Regions from separate parts of the Homo sapiens genome. Here region 1 is linked to region 2. Evidence: promoter capture Hi-C in 16 types of primary human blood cells and fetal thymus (Javierre and others, 2016). All regions are on one chromosome and are shown on one strand. Each heading gives the region's core, a stretch centred on a gene start or on the middle of the fragment in contact. The rest is flanking DNA. Distances are from core to core; before and after follow the strand shown. Region 1 overlaps LINC01386 (long intergenic non-protein coding RNA 1386). Region 2 holds the start of TMEM174 (transmembrane protein 174).

The links. Contacts are between HindIII fragments. The CHiCAGO score rates a contact against its expected background, and 5 or more counts as called.
Region 1: a fragment that was not itself captured here is called in contact with the fragment with the promoter of TMEM174 in region 2 in 3 of 17 cell types (endothelial precursors, M2 macrophages and total CD8 T cells); the score reaches 7.5 in endothelial precursors.

Annotation. Positions count from the first base shown.
Region 1 is chr5:73,453,843-73,459,479 of GRCh38, reverse strand. LINC01386 (long intergenic non-protein coding RNA 1386) reads left to right here. Exons shown (of 5, transcript NR_126410.1): 5 at 5,161-5,290. Among named protein-coding and RNA genes, the nearest start is that of FOXD1, 7.9 kb to the right of the region's middle. The HindIII fragment of the contact is 1,057 bases long and covers 3,753-4,809 here.
Region 2 is chr5:73,170,565-73,176,311 of GRCh38, reverse strand. It overlaps TMEM174 (transmembrane protein 174), which reads right to left and starts at 3,119. Exons shown (of 2, transcript NM_153217.3): 1 at 2,443-3,119; 2 at 1,169-2,252. The coding sequence starts at 3,068. The coding sequence ends at 2,147. The HindIII fragment of the contact is 4,462 bases long and covers 1,411-5,747 here.

The DNA.
Region 1 (5,637 bases), core at 3,032-5,531, 280 kb before region 2:
TTTGAAGGCTGAAGTGGGAGGATTGCTTGAGCTCAGAAGTCTGAGGCTGCAGTGATCTATGATCATGCCACTGAACCCTAGCCTGGGTGACAGAGTGAGACCCTACCATAAAAAATTTTAAAAAACATATCAAAGTAGTTCCCCCCAAGTTATGTTTTATTATGTTGTGGGCTTATTTATACAGTGTAAGTTGTCATGGACTCTCATATATTACACTTTTTTTTTTTTTTCTGAGACAGGGTCTTCCTCTGTCACCCAGGCTGGAGTGCAGTGGTGCAATCTCATCTCGCTACATCCTCTGCCTCCTGGGTTCAAGCGATTCTTGTGCCTCAGCCTCCCAAGTAGCTTGGAGTACAGGCATGTGCCACTGTGCCTGACCTCATTATTAAACTTTTTTTTTTTGAGATGGAATCTCCCTCTGTTACCCAGGCTGGAGTGCAGTGGCACAATCTCGGCTCACTGCAACCTCTGCCTCCCGGGTTCAAGCAATTCTTCTGCCTCAGCCTCCCCAGTAGCTGGGACTACAGGCATGTGCCACCACACCTGGCTAATTTTTGTATTTTCAGTAGAGATGGAGTTTCACCATATTGGCCAGGCTGGTCTCAAACTCCTGACCTCGTGATCTGCCTGCCTCGGCCTCCCAAAGTGTTGGGATTACAGGCATGAGCCACTGCGGCCAGCCTCATTATTAAACTTTTTATGTCATGATGTGGCAAACTATATTTTTCAAAGATGGCAGTACCCACATCTCCCACACACTTTTTACATGGTGACTTGAAGACTCCTCCCATTCAGAGTTGGGTCTATGTTCCTTTTATGGGTTAAACTATGTTTCTCCAAAAATTCTTATGTTGAAGTTCTAACCTACAGTACCTCAGAATGTGAACTTAATCAGAGATGCAGTCTTTACACAGCTAATCAAGTAAAATGAACTCATTAGGGTGGGCCCTCATGCAGTATGACTGGCGTCCTTTTAAAAAGGGGAAAAATGGACATAGACACACAGAGCGGGAAGATGATGTGAGGAGACAGGGAGAGAAGAGAGGAGAGCCAAGGAGAGAGGCCTGGAGCAGATCCTTCCTCTCAGCCCTCAGAAGGAACCAACCCTACCAACCCCTTTATTTTGGACTTCCAGCTTCCAGAACTGTGAGATAATACATTTCTCTTATTCAGGCCACCAGTCTACAGTACTTTGTTATGGCAGCCCTAGCAAACTAATACACTTCCCTCCTCTCAAATCTGGGTAGCTTATAATTACTGTGGAAGTGACATTATGTGACTTCCTAGGCTAGGTCATAAAAGGGAATACACCTTCCACTGATTGTCTTGGAAGACTGGTCTGTGAGGAAGCCCAGGCCACCGGAAAAGTTCACATGTTGGTGTTCTAGCTGACAATCCCAGCTGATAGCTAGCATTGACTGGTAGAGATATAAATTAAACAGCTTTCACCCTTTGATTCTCTTTGTTAATTCCCGACTCACAAAAGGTGTTAGCATAATGAAATGACAGTTTTAAGCCACTACATTTGGGGATAATTACATAATAGTTTGTAACATGTCTTTAAGATGATTTTTATTTAAGATTACTCATGCCTTTGCTCAAATTGTTCCTCCTGCTTGGAATCCTTTCCCCCCAGATATCCAGCAGTAGCACTATTCTAGTCTTTGCTCACTGTGTAAAATTTCCACCCACCTGTCCTTTCCATGCTGCCCCGCCACTACCACCTCCAGCCCCCTTCGCTGTTCTATATTTTTCCACATGGTAAATATTACCTTTTAACATATGATATCATTAATTAATTAAGGTATTCAGTTTACTTATTTCTTATGGTCTTTCTCCTGCTAAATATGTAAAGCTTTTTAGGGCGAAGACCTTTGTCCATTTGTTTACTGATGTATCCCAAGTTCCTAGAACAGTACTTGCCGCATAGTAGACACTCAATAAAATAAATATTTGTTAAGTAAATGAATAAGAAGAATTTTAAATCTGGGAAATTAGAAAGTCACTGTTAACTCTACAACTTTTTGGATTTTTTTTTTTTTTTAAGAGACAGGGGTTTCACTATGTTGCCCAGGCTGGTCTTGAACTCCTGAGCTCAAGCTCAAGCGATCCTCGTGCCTCAGCCTCCCAAAGTGCTGGGATTACAGATGTGAGCTACTGCTCCCTGTCTGTATCACATTATTTCAGTGAATGCCATTTCCCAAACTGGTATCCCATAGTAAAATAAATTTGGAAAATATTACAACAAATGTATAGTCCTCTGAAAGAGTCACAATGTACAAAACAAACCTAAAAATTTCAAAGTGCTGCAATAAAGTCAACTGCTTTCTTGATGTACCTCATCTTTTCCAAAATTTCCATGGCCAGGTTGTTCCACAGCACACTGATTACCACAGCAGTGGCATATGGAGTAGGAATGACACTATGAGGGCCTATGGAATATGGAGAGAGGATATGAAAGCAATGGGGAAAAACAGATATTGGCGGGGTTGTGGAGAAAAGGGAACACTTAGACACTGTGGGTGGAAATGTAAATTAGTTCAGTCCCTGTGGAAAACAGTTAGGAGATTTCTCAAAGAACTAAAAATAGAATTACCATTCAGCCCAGCAATCTCATTACTGGGTATATATCCAAAGGAAAAGAAATTATCCCATCAGAAGGACACCTGCACTTCTACATTTATCACAGCACTATTCACCATAGCAGACATGGAATCAACCTAGGTGCCCATCAATGGTGGACTGGATAAAGAAAATGTGGTGCATATACACCATGGAATACTACACAGCCATGAACAAGAATGAAATCATGTCCTTTGCAGCAATATGGATGCAGCTGGAGGCCATTATCTTAAATGAATTAATGCAGAAACAGAAAACCAAATACCACATGTTCTGACTTATAAATGGGAGCTCAACATGGGGTACACATAGACACAAAGATGGGAACAATAGACACACTGGGGACTCCAAAATTAGGGAAGAGGGCAAGGGTTGAAAAACCGCATATTAGGTACTATTTTCACTATTTGGGTGATGGGTTCAATAGAAGCACAAACCTCAGTATCATGCAATATACTCATGTAACGACCCTGCACATGTACCTCCTGGATCTAAAATAAATAAAATGAAAGAGGAGCTTTCAAACTTTTTTATTGTAACCCACACTAAGAAATTATTTTACTCATTTTTAATTATTATTTTTTGTACAGATGGGGTCTTCTTATGTTGCCCAAGCTGGTCTCGAACTTCTGGGCTCAAGGAAACCAAGAGATCATTTTACATAGAAACTCAGTATACATACACACGCACAAAAGTATAAAAATAAAAATAACTGAAATAAAGTTTTCACAAACTATTCTTAGCATTATTATGTGCTGTGCAGTGATGTTTTCTATCCTAACCCATCCCATTCTGTTCTGTTCTATTCTCTTTCAGTTGTGGTCAAAATGCACTAAATTGATTTCATGAGCCAGAATTTTGTCTTTTCCTGCTGCTTTTGGAAGAGCTCCTCAAACTCTTCAAACCCAGTCCATTCTTCAGTTGTATCTATTCTGCTTCATATTTGTTTTTTAAAAATTAAATTGTTGTGGCTCCAGATGAGGGTTTTTTTTTAACAAAAAGAAATTTAAAAAATTGTCGTGGGTACATAGTAGGTGTATATATTTATGGGGTACCTGAGATGTTTTGATATATGCAGGCAATGCATAATAATCCCATTATGGGGAATAAGGTATCCATCCCTTCAAGCTTTTATCTTTTGTGTTACTAACAATTCAACTATGCTCTTCTAGTTATTTTAAAAATGTACAATTAATTATTATTGACAACAGTCACACTGTTGTGCTACATTCTGCTATGTATTCCATCTATTTGCCCTTTATTTTATTACTTTCTTCATACTTAATGTTTCCACTAGGTTTAAAACAATTATTTCTTTCTTTTGCTTAATGTTACTAATAAGTCCCCTCCCTCTTTGATATATGTATTATGCTTGCTTTAAATTCTTGATGTCTATTCCTATAATCATGCTTCAAATGATATGAACTGTTCCATCTGTAGTCTTTCTTTTACACTAATTGTGCTCCTCAGCTGTCTCAACTCAGCACTTTGGAAATTGCTCAGGCTGAAAAATTTGGAAAACATAGAAAAATATAATATAAATAACAAAATGAAAACCACCCATAATTTCACCCAGAGTTAACCAATTGACATTTTATTGTATTTTCTTCCAGTCTTTTGCATGTTTAGTACATTGAATTATTGAGAAAATACTGTATGTAATTTTCTATCTGAACCTTTCTCTTAACTTTAAGATTTTCTCAAGTTATTAAAACTGTTCACGGACCTCGCTTTAGTGATTGCAAAATATTCCATCATGAGAATAATATATTTAATCCCGAGCATTTAGAATGTTTCTATTTTTTTTTTTTTGCTTCTTAAAAAAAAACTGCCGCAAACATTTTGAACATAAATATTTGCTCATATTTCTGGTTATTTCCATAAAATAGAATCTTAGAATGAAAGGATTCAAGGGAACGGACACTAAGATACAAGCTCTGTTTTGCCAAATTGTTTGCTGAAAGGTTTGTACAATTTTATAGTTCCACAGGCAGTGTGTAATTGAATTCCTACCATCATGTTCATCATCCTCATGTAGTTTGCTAATCTGATAGAGTTTTCTCTTTCCTATTTTGCATGTCTCTGAAGAGTAGGGAATCATTCATTATTTGTATTTACTTTTATGTAAATTTTGGGTTCAGGCCCTTCCCAGTTTTTTCTGCTCTGGAAGGCTAGCCGACCAAAGCTTTCTAGCAAAGGTGCTCACACGTGCCTCTAGTGGAAGGTTTTGAGAATGCCTTCTTGCAAAGGGGTGTATGTACCTGACTGCAACCTATGACTTGCAGCCTGGTGTCAGATGGTGGTATCAGGTGAAGTGCCACACTGAGTGTAGACAATGAGGTTTCAGTGTGTTTGCATATGCGTAACAGACAGGTGATAGTTCAGTCTCAGTTTAAGCCTGGAAATCAGGCAATAGTGTGTGTGTGCGGGTGTGAGACAGAAAAGGTTGGTCACCAAATACCTTTTAAATACACACACAAAATTACAACTTATGACAAGACTTTCTCATGACCTCATAAACATACTTTTCATTTTCAGTGTGACTTGTAGACAGCTGCATCCCTAGAGTTACTTTAGAGAGCCCTGTCGTTCCCAAGCAGAGAGATTTGTCTGCACAGCCAGCCTCTGGGTGAAGTACAAATGCAAAATAAATAAATGCCTTCTTCTAGAACAGCAATATTATTTTTCAATTCTTCTTATAACTAAAAATACTAAGTCTATTTCCAGGAAATTATTAGACAATGTGAACAAATACCAGAAGTTTATAGAGCTGCAAAGATGTACTCAGGAGAGTCTGGTGTTGAAGTTAGCCCCCAACAAGAGGAGTCCTCTCTGGAATGGAAATATGTGTATTTTTCAGTTAAATTCATGATAAAAAATACTTTTTGAGCTTTGGGGTACAAAATCTAAACATGTGCCACTACAAACCACTTAGATGCGGAGCTAAGTAAGTCTGTGTGTGGGTGTGTGTTAGGATGGGAGGACCAGTCCAGGTTAACAATGTAAGGAAAATTT
Region 2 (5,747 bases), core at 1,870-4,369:
TTTAATGAGTCCAAATCCCTCTTAGGGCTACAGGACTTCTCAGTGGTGTCAGAGAATAATTAATAGATGATTAATACAGATAATGAATCCGTATCTTTCTCCCCCACTAGACTACTAGACTAGAGGCTCTGCAAGGGCAGAACCATGTATGCTCTCTTCTTGGTGACATTTTTAAGTTATATTTCCACCTGATGGACCCAGACCGACACAGAGTAGATGCTCAATAAATAAATATTGCACTAATGAACAAATTCCTGTTTTCTGATCCCTGACTGCTGCAGATCCTACTCCTACCTCGAGCTCTTGAAGCCATTAGCCCTGAAGCACTCTCTTTGGAAGCATAAATGACCTCTACATTAGCACTTTTCCCTCTGTCTTGGAACAGGAATTGTTGGTGCCAGAAAATAACCATCCCAACCCTCCAGGCCACCTCCCTGCATATCTGACTCTAGGCATCTCCAAGACAAACTGGCTGCTCTGCCCTACCCAGCTGTATGTGGGGATGCCCTTTTCCTAATAACATTTTCTTTTTTGAGCTACTTTTGATGTTCATTGTAGCCCAAATTTATGAACATAAAATTATGGGGTGGGTGAAAATGGCAGGGGGCTGGGGAGAGACAGTCAGAGAAGCACTCAAGGCAAGGGTGGCATGAGGGGCCCAAAATGTCATCTGCTGGTCAGCATGCCACTGGTGATGCTCAGCCTGGTCCTTGTCACCAAACTTCTTCTCCAAAACCAATGGCCCTCAGCTAGGGACCAGTGTCTCAGGGATCTGCTGAACATAAAGCTAGTTTCTTTAAATGAAATCATTTTCACTTATCACCTATCATCAAACATGACAGTGTATGTGAAAAGGTTTTGTCCCCAAGATATAACATAAATGACAACAATAATATACCAAGCTTACTTCACTCATATCCTTGGAAACCTAGATACTTCTGATCAAAATTAGTAAAAGTTGCTCCATATACAAACGCTATGTCAAAATTTTTTTAAGAATTGCTTAATCCTGTGTCTTCCTTTAGGATGTACCACCCTTACCTTGAGTGGCATTGCCTTTGAAGCCCAAAGCAAATATTTTCTTTTAAAACCTAATGGTTTTAAACTGTCTCTTCTAAAGTCTGTGAGTCAGTTCCAGTTGTTTATTACACAGCCAAATTCAGAGAGATTAAGGACACCAAAGTTTTTTTAATGAAGAAGATGAGTTTCTTTTAGTCATAAAGATTGTTTCTATCATATCATTCCCCATGTGTTGACATGGCAACTCTGCTCTGTCTTGCTCCACAGACCTACGGGTACTTAGGGAAGTCCTGTGTTCTGTCAGCCACTGGTCCCAGCTAGTTCATGCTTGGCGCAGGCCCCAGCCTGGGGTGGACCAAGAGCCCACCCATGTTCATCACACGTCAAGCTTCAACCTTGCAGAAGAGAACAGCAGCAGCCAAGGGTCACTGTGACTCAGTGATCGGGAAGGATGTATTCACAGCGCTATCCTATTATGGTCTATTTTGTGTAATTTAGTCAGGTATCCAATACTATTCTAGCAGGAGACATGATTTATTTTATTTCATTGGTTTGATGTTTTTGTTTTGTTTTGTTTTATAGTCTTTAAGGTACCCAGAGTCCTCAGAGAGGCCAGATGGCAGCTGAGTTGTTTGGGATTAGTGAGTCTGCTTTGGGGCCAAGGACAGCCACCAGGAAATCTCCAGCTGGGCCTGCTTTCTCTTCCCTGCTTCCTTCCCACCCGACTCTCACCTCTGTGGAAACTCCCAAAGTCTCAGAAGTCGTGATTTTTCCATTGGCTGCTGGGGTTAAAATTGAGCCACCAATGCCTTCCTACAGAGAAGGGGGAGGGTGGTGGATGAAAAAGTGAAATTCCTGCTCCTGAACCTTATACAGGAGATTTCTTACCCGAGGGAATTTGAAACTGTTCCGGAGGAGAATTTCCCCAGCCCAGCCTAATTTTTACCAATCTGAGAAATTGCACCTCCCACTTCCCCTTTCCCCCCTTGAATGATCTCTGTCAGGCTGCCTGGGCGCTGCTGTAACTTCTGAAGGTTACAACATAGAACACCACGGTTGTCAGGTAACAATGACGGAAACACTTGCTCCCTGAGCTGAGCATTGTGTTATTATATCAGAATAGCCTCTAGCGAGGGAGAGAGTATATTTCTTCATAAGGGGGAGGAGAGAAGCAGGCACAGGCCTCCTCTTCCAGCTGTGTCTCTTCTAGCTGGTCAACATCAGGATTGGGCCTGAAATGTGAGCAGAAAACACAGGTACATTATGGTCCAAAGCACCATTCACAGAACCAAGGCTGCCATCGTGGGCAACAGGCTAAGAAGAGATTCACAGTCTCCCAACACCTTATTCATGGACCAAACAGCCACAGATCATGACGGAGATGGCTAGAAGGAGTGCATTCCCCCAGTAGACACGCCATACCTGTGATTTCCACCGTCCGTGAAAGAAAGGCAGCCCTCATCAACCACAAATGCAGAGTTATCTTGAGGGTAGATGGTGTAGTATTGAGGAGGACTTGACATGGCGGCTGCTGCCCCTCCAGAGGTTATGAGGCCGCAGGGGCTCACCACAGACTGCAGGTAGCTGGTATTTATCCCCATAGGCTCTGGAGAACCATAAGGAGGAGGGATGTACTGCACCACAGTGGCCCCATGGAAGGTGATGGGTTGGTTGATGCCAGTGAAAACAAATGATGGTCCTCCTGGTGTCTGTTCCGAGTCCGGGACCCTTTCCTCACTTTCTTTGCACAACTGGCAGGAGAGCATTTTGAACTTGCACACAGCAATCAGGATGAATGTCACCCCAACTGACAGCAGGACGGGCCCAAGGAGCTGGGTCCATTCAAAGTGGGAGACACCTTGGTATTTGATCCAGCCCATGACAGTGAATGTGATCCCCACCAGTCCCAGAAAGATGCCTGAGAAGAGCAAGGTGGCCCCCGCCTTGTCATCATCGGACACCTGGATGTCAGCGGTGCTGGGTGTGTAAGGAGTGACGGAGAACACATTGACAGGGAAGTCCTCCAAGCGGCCGCTGCCCTGCTCCATTGCTCCTTGTGGGCTCACCCTGCTTCTTAGAGTGGAGAGGATTGTGAGAACCAAGGAATCACAGGTCCAAATTAGTTATAGAAGAACTTAGGGCTTGTGCTTAACAGGGTGTAACACACAGAGGGCTGGACCTTGTTTAGAAGAATAAAGGTCTGAGAAATGAAGCCTGAAGTTTTCTCATGTATTGTCAACAAGTGGAGGTCTCTGTTTTGCAAGTCAATGACAAGCTGTCTCTCTAATTCACATTCATTCATTCACACATTCAAAAATTAACTTATTGAGCCCATCTTTCTCTTTCTTTTTCTTTTCTTTTCTTTTTTTTGTTTTGTTTTGTTTTTTTAGGGTGTGGGTCTCACTCTGTCACCCAGCTGGAATGCAGTGGCACAATGATAGCTCACTGCAGCCTCAACCTCCTGGGTCAAGCGATCCTCCCACCTCATCCTCTCCAGTAGCCAGGACTACAGGCACACATCACAATGCTCAGCCAATTTTTAAAATTTTTTGTAGAGATAGGGTCTCATTATGTTGACCAGGCTGGTCTCAAAACTCCTGGACTCAAGTGCTCCTCCTGCCTTGGCCCCAGGAGGTACTCTTCTATAGCAATTTAAGACGCTGCCATAAGACCCTGTTTTTGTCCTACCCAACTTTGTAGAAATGGCAGAGCTCCCTCAAGGGTCTCCAGCAGTGAATGGGGCCCTTGATATATCCACACATGCACAGGAGTCTAACCTGATTTACCTAGTGGTTCAGTTCATTAGGAATAGACAGACACCTATTTCTTGACTGCGTGTGTATTCCTATCTACTTCAAGAACCCCTAGCTGTGATGATACTTAAACTTTAATAACAGTTCTCACAAAGCCCTGAGATCCTGTTCTTTTCTGGCCAGCCCCACATGCCTTTTGCTTTCTGCGTTTGGGGAGTAATTCCAGCTTTGGGAGAGGAACAACGTCATAGGAAACCTTTTTATGCACTGCATCACTGCCAGTGGTTGAATAAGCATCAGATATGACCTGGCTCACTAGGACACATGCTTCGGACCCTCCCTCCATGGTGGCCACACAGTTCCTGGTCTTCAAGGTGAAACAACCAGCTGTGTTTTGGAACCTACTATGTTTTACAACCAAACCCAAGTTGATGTAGAGAAGACAGTTTAATTTTCAATAACATTATCTGTCATTCATGACTGCAAAACTTCCAAACAGCCCCATGAGTTTCTTCCTCCACTGATTAATAACTGTAGCCTTCTTTCCTTCCTAGACAGATTTTATTCAAGCCGATGCTCTCTGCAGTAATTAAATATTATATTAGCTCCTTTTGCAGAATTGAGAGGGCTGCCGTCTTGCCCTAAGGCAGGGCTTCCTAAACTTCCCTTGACAAAGAAATCACATGGGCCACTTTTTTAAAGGACAAAATGTGAGCTCCCATTTCAGACCAACAGAACCAAATATCCAAGGGAAGGACCTCAGGTGATTCATCATCAAGAAATCTTAGGAAACCCAACCCCAGGTTAACCTTAAATGCTTCTAGGAGACCAAAGGACATTTTTCCCCATGAAAATGCCTCTCCCTGCTACAGGACAAGGCTTGTAATCTCCTACTTCACTGCCAAACAGATGGAAAAGCAAGCAGGTGACCCCTGAGGTATCTTCCTGGATGTGCCTTGGAGCAGCAAGGCTGGAGTGGAGTTGCTATAGGAACAGGCTGCCCTTTTTCCCACTGAGCTAGATCAGAGATCCAGGAAAGCCAGATTTTCTCTTTAACTATAAATTTCTGGTAAGTTAGCCTGCCATTATTTTCAGGTTCTTAACTCCTAAGTTAACAGTCAAAACAATCCCTGACATTTAGAAAAAAGCTAGGATCTCAAAACTGTCTTCTAAATCACTCAATTTATGTTTTCCATTTGCCTTTAGCTATATCCACTAAGAATAACTGGGAAGCCTGAGAGAGTAGAGGAAACAGATCACCCTCCTTTAGACAGCTCATGAATGCAAACTGGAACTGCTTTCAGAGCAGAAAGATCAGAAAGTTCTCCAATTACATTTTCAAGGTCCGTTTGACTCAGCTGCTTCTTCCAAAAGCCCCACCTCTGTCTAGATGGTAAATAGCAATTTTTTTTTAAAGCTAACCAACTGAATTCAATAGCATATTCAAAGGACTATATGCCATGACCAAGTGGAAGGCAAGGCTGGTTCAACGTACAAAAATCAATCTATGTGATGCAGTATATTCACAGAATGAAGGGGAAAAAACAACACACGATCATCTCAATTGATGAGTGAAGGGGAAACATTTATTGAATACTTACTATGTACCAGGTGTAATTCTATACATTTAATATAGGTGACATAATTTCATTCTTTTAACAACCAGGTTACAGTCAAGAAAACTATGCTGATTATTAAGCTATGGTGACTCAGCTCCAAACCCACCTTTCTAAACTTCTCTTTGTCTCAGACTCTCAAAGCACACTTTTCCTTTCCCAGGCTGCTCCAGTTAGGCTTTGCCAATAGGGGGTGCTACAGGGAGACTTCAAGGTGGGAGAAAGGAGAAGGCACTTAGCAGTTTCTATTTTGCTTGCTGTTACTGTCAGTGTCACTCCAACAACAGTTCTTCTTCCTGGCAGTAACAGTTCCAGTTTCCAGAACCCTCCTCCTGCCCTCCAATCAGCCTCACTGTGC